Regions from separate parts of the Homo sapiens genome. Here region 1 is linked to region 2. The links are contacts of gene promoters, found by promoter capture Hi-C in human tissues and cell types (Jung and others, 2019). All regions are on one chromosome and are shown on one strand. Each heading gives the region's core, a stretch centred on a gene start or on the middle of the fragment in contact. The rest is flanking DNA. Distances are from core to core; before and after follow the strand shown.

The links. Contacts are between HindIII fragments. The study calls those that stand out against the background at their distance.
Region 1: a contact is called between a fragment that was not itself captured here and the fragment with the promoter of ATF1 in region 2, in 1 of the 25 tissues and cell types used here (aorta).

Annotation. Positions count from the first base shown.
Region 1 is chr12:51,283,855-51,286,554 of GRCh38, forward strand. It overlaps BIN2 (bridging integrator 2), which reads right to left. Exons shown (of 13, transcript NM_016293.4): 12 at 862-933. Among named protein-coding and RNA genes, the nearest start is that of SMAGP, 15 kb to the left of the region's middle. The HindIII fragment of the contact is 4,435 bases long and covers 1-2,700 here.
Region 2 is chr12:50,762,827-50,765,526 of GRCh38, forward strand. It overlaps ATF1 (activating transcription factor 1), which reads left to right and starts at 1,275. Exons shown (of 7, transcript NM_005171.5): 1 at 1,275-1,481. RefSeq lists silencers at 1,229-1,308, 1,529-1,618 and an enhancer at 2,039-2,138. The HindIII fragment of the contact is 17,018 bases long and covers 1-2,700 here.

The DNA.
Region 1 (2,700 bases), core at 20-2,519, 520 kb after region 2:
GTGGTGGCGCATGCCTGTAATCCCAGCTACTCAGGAGGCTGAGGCAGGAGAATTGCTTGAACCCAGAGGCCAAGGCTGCGGTGAGCCGAGATCATGCCATTGCACTCCAACCTGGGCAACAAGAGTGAAACTCCGTCTCAAAAAAAAAAAAAAGAAAAGAAAAATATTTTTTAATGGTGTAGCCTAAGTGTACAGTGTTTATAGTCTATAGGAGTGTAAGTAATGTCCTAGGCCTTCACATTCACTCACCACTCACTCACTGACTCACCCAGAGAAGCTTCCACTCCTGCAAGCTCCACTCATGATAGTGCCCTATACAAGTGTATCACTTTTTATTTTCTATATGCTATTTTTACTGTACTTTTCTATGTTTAGATACACAAATATTAACCACTGTGTCACAGCTGCCTACAGAATTCAGTAAAGTAACATGCTGTATAGGTTTGCAGCCTAGAAGCAATAGGCTATACCATACAGCCACACATAATGACAAAATCGTCTAATAATGCATTTCTCAGAGCATATCCTTGTTGTTGAGCAACACATTACTGTATAATATGACCTTTTTGCATTTAAAAAAAATATCTTAACCTCTTTAACTCCTTTTTGAAATAATTTGAGATTTAATTAAATAAATACCTAGAAGATAGGGCCAGTTTAAGGTCAAGTATAGGAAAATGGGCACGGAGATACCACGAAGTCCCAGTTCATTCTTGTTTCCTCTGATTCCCACCTGCTTGACTGCCCTAAGGGTATGGTTCACTGCCGGATTCCCCTTGTAGCCTGTGGTGAAGATTCCAGCCTTTTCCCAAACCCCTGTCAATCTAATGCCCAATCTATTCTCTGTATATCTGGTCTTACCTCTTCTTGAGGTTCAGGTGCTGTGAGGTTGTTGTTTTCTGGTACCATGGAGACTTGAAGCTGGTCTTGGCCCTACAAAGAGAAGAGTTCTGCCAGTAAGAGGTGGCTCAACCTTTCCAGCCTCTCAGCATAGAAGTGTCTTCTGTGCCTTATACTTTACAAGGGTCTCAGTATTTGTACTATTACAAAGGGCAAAATACAGTGTTGTTTCACCAGAGCCTGAAGGCATCGGGAAAGGCTTTCATCCATCCTCTTTTACAGATGAATAAACTAAGATTCAAAGGGTAAAAAGACTTGCTGGGACAGGAAACCAGGTCTTTGAATTCCTGAGTTGTTTCCATGATCAAACACCATGTAATCTGTGTGACATGGTGTGGATGTGTATCTATAAGGGAGTGCGAGGTCTTAAAATTACTACCTGCCACTTTTAGATGAACCGTCCTCAAGAATGTACTGCAACTCTCACACTTAAGTGATCCTAATTCATGACACGCAGTTAGGAGAAGCAAGTGGTAAAATAATTTCTTTGGGAAAAATTTTAGGTTCTGAGATGGGAACCCAAGGTGTAGGAAGCCCAGTCTAGACCACGTGCAGGGGTGCACACCTGTAGTCCCAGCTCCTTGAGAGGCTGAGGCAGGAGGATCACTTGAGGCCAGGAGTATCAAGGTTGCAGTGCACTATGATTGCACCTGTGAATACCCACTGCACTCCAGCCTGGGCAACATAGTGAGATCATCTCTAAAAATATAAATTTTAAAAAAAAGAAAGAAAGCCCTGCCTAGAAACTGCTATGCTAGGGGAAGACCCTGTGAGGTTTAAAATAAGTTTTTAAAACATGAAATTTAATTTACAAACTATAAATTCATATTTTAAAAACAGAACCAATTTCTTTTTAATTTTTTCTTTCTTTCTTTTTTTTTTTTTTTGAGAAGGAATCTGGCTCTGTCACCCAGGCTGGAGTGCAGTGGCGTGATCTTGGTTCACTGCAACCTCCACCTCCCAGGTTCAAGCGATTCTCCTGCCTCAGTCTCCCAAGTAGCTGGGATTACAGGCGCCCACCACCATGCCTGACTTTTAGTAGAGATGAGGCTTCACTATGTTAGCAAGGCTGGTCTCAACCTCCCAACCTCAAGTGATCCACTCCCCTCAGCCTCCCAAAGTGTTGGGATTACAGGTGTGAGCCATGGCACCTGGCCAACAGAACCAATTTCTAACAGTGTGATAGCCACTTGAAATTCCAAGATTTCTCCTTCAAGGACATTTTCTTTCTTTTTACTCCCTCCTCCCTTTCCAGGTCATGAATTAGCTCAGAGGTGATGTTACATCACCTCCCGGAAAGTTATCAAAACCTTCCATCTCTCTGAGATGATTCAAATGGTAAGCAAGAACAGATTTTTTCCCAGTAATTTTTTTTCAAAAATGGCTATGTTTTTTCCCAGTTATATTTATATTTACCCATTTTTACATGTGACATGTCCATAATTCTGCCTGAGAGAAAATATGATTTATAATGCATCTGCAAGGGAAGTGAGCATACACAGGCTTCAGAGGATTGATGACACGAATAGGCTAGGATCTAAGATGCTCTAGTTGCTTAATTCTACAGGAAAAATATTTCTCCTTAGCTGATGACCAAAGCAATCCCACCAGAGAGGCTAAGAGTAAGGAAATATTATAAATCTAAAATATAAGGAGACAGACTCAGGCGGAAGGAGAGTGTATCCTGTACCTCTTTTCCAGGGAGGACAGTGTTACTAGCCTGTTTCTTAAAATGGTCAGAAAGAGTCTTGGCTCCTATAAACTCCTCCCTTCAAAAAGATGACTCCAAGAATGCAAGCT
Region 2 (2,700 bases), core at 25-2,524:
TTTTAAAAATTAAGAATAAGGCATAACTCCCTTCCAGAGAGGTAGACCCAAAAATATTCTGAAGTTTTTGTAATGCATTAAAATGACGGCATAACATTTTATTAACACTCTGTTACGTTTCTTTTTTCTTTTTTTTTGAGACAGTTTTGCTCTTGTTGCCCAGGCTGGAGTGCAACGGTGCGATCTCGGCTCACCGCAACCTCCGCCTCCCGGGTTCAAGCGATTCTCCTGCCTCAGCCTCCCAAGTAGCTTGGATTACAGGCATTCGCCACCACACCCGGCTACTTTTGTATTTTTTAGTAGAGACGGGGTTTCTCCATGTTGGTCAGGCTGGTTTCGAACTCCCGATCTCAGGTGATCCGCCCTCCTGGGCCTCCCAAAGTGCTGGGATTACAGGCATGAGCCACCGCGCCCGGCCACATCGTTATGTCTCATTGTAAATCCGTTTCTGTAGAAAATCCTTCCACATGGGTTAAAGGACACAACTCATTGTTACTTTATGGGATTAAGAAAAATCTGAGTAAGGCCGGGCACGGTGGCTCACGCCTGTAATCCCAGAACTTTGAGAGGCCGAGGCGGAGGATCACTTGAGCCCAGGAGTTCAAGACCAGCCTGAGCAACATAGAGTCCTCATCTCTTCAAGCCGAGCGTGGTAGCGCGCGCCTGTGGTCCCAGCTGCCCCATAGGCTGAGGTTGGAGAATCGCTTGAATCCCGGGGTTGGAGGCTGCAGTGAGTCGAGATCGAACCACTGCACTACAGCCTGGGCCACAGACCCCCGTCTCAATCTCGGAAAAAAAAAAGAGACTCCATCTAAAAAAAAAAAAAAAAAAAAAAAGCTGAGGAAGTCAAAGCCTTCACTCTTCATTTCTCCTTCCAAGAGGACAGGGCCGGCGTCGGTCAAGGTCAATTGGCAGGTGAGTTGACAGCGCCGCCACTAATCGATGAAAACGCCCCCCGCGAGCACCCAGCTGCTCATGGCCTCCGGAAGCGGACGTAGGGCGGGTGGGGTACAGCTCCTAAGGAGAAACGGAACCGCAGGCACCGTCCCTCTCCCGCTGCAGCCTGAGGAACGCGTTCCGAGGAACCCCTAGCCACAAGTCAGGACCGCGTACAAGATGGCGGCGCGTCACGTGGGCAGCGCGGTGACGCAGGACGGCGGCCCGCGCGGAGGCAGCGCCATAGCCTACCCCAAACGCACACTAGTGCTCAGTTTTGCCCCCCTCCCCTCCCCCGCCCCCGCCCCCGCCCCCAGGCTTGTGTAGATCATGCCGCCAGTAGCGGCCCTGACTGCCGAGGAAACGGTAGCTTAGGACAGTTGGCTGTTAAGTGACACTGATTCTCCCCGCCCCGCCTGACCCCCGAGAAGGAGGCTTGTCCCCCGCTGCGTGAGGGGGTGGGGAAGTGGGTAGTGAATTCGGATCTACCTGGGAGGGGGGAGTGGAAGTTCCCGCCCCGGAGAGCGGCGAGGCGGCAGCCACAGGTAAGTGGGGGGCGGGGAGGGACGTGCCCCGTGGCCCGGGCGGGGAAGGACGCGGGAACGTGGCGCCGGCGGGGACGCAGCGCGGGTCGCGCGCCTGGTGGGGGTCGCGCGCGGTGGTGGCGGTGGGGGAGGGGCGCAGCGGCAGGGGGAGGGGCCGCCCGCGCTTCCGGCCTCCGCGCCTCGGTGCAGAGCTGCGCTGCGCCCTTCCAGTCGTGCGTCTCCTCCTTTCCCTCGCCCCCAAATAAAAGTAAAGCCCGAAACCGCCCGCCGCGGGGTGGCTTTCGCCTCAGAAGCCGCCCTTTGCAGTCGCAGGCGCTAGCTCTCCGTGGGAGGTCTCGAGGTTGGGCCCGGAGCCGGGCGGAGGGCGGCGCGGATATGGCCTCGGCGCGGTGTCCGCCGAGCGGAGCCCGGGTCTGGTTAACCCCGCGACAGGGTCCTCGAAGCGCGTCGGCGCTGGCGACCCTGAGGGAAGAGGCGCGCCCCTTACCCTCCTGGAGCTTGCAGTCTAGCGGGCAACCGACGCACGGGCATTGCGCACGCCCCAGACAGTCCTGGAGAGATGCGCCTGGCAGCGGAGACAGAGTGGGGACAGTAGGCGGCTTTACCCCTGGCTAGGAATGACACAAGGGCGTCTGTACCCTTTGGGATGGGCGACCCAGCCGAGGGTGACTTTCTCTTTGATCTTGTATGTCAAAAAACGAAGCCTGGCATTTCTCACTTTGATCGACGCCGTGCAGCTGGCGGCTGAATCGCTTTGAAATGATTGCAATGTGAAATAATGTCTGGTTGTGGCGCTAGTGTTTTGAAGAGATTGGGCAACTGGTAGTCTTTGAGAACCTTTAGGGTTCAGAAGCTCGGCGTGGATCTGGCAGGCATCTTTGTCAAACTGGCCTCACCTGTGATGAGTTCGTAGGCATTTATGTCTCAGAATGCATTTTAACCTGAGGTTTTTGTTAACAGAAATGCGTTCTTCTAAAATGCTCTTTTTTCTTGGAGTTTATCATATGCAGTTATCTCCGTGTCTTAATTAGAATCAATACTGTTGCCCTAAAGTCGAATGTATTAGCTCTTTAATACTTGCCGTTATCTTTTAGGGTTAGGTTTGGTCTGTGAGCTATCTGTCCATTCCTACCCGATCACCAGCAGGTGGCAGTCCCTTCTGACTTTAAATATAGGGTGTGCTATCTTTGCCAGTTTTTGTTTTGTTTTGTTTGTTTGT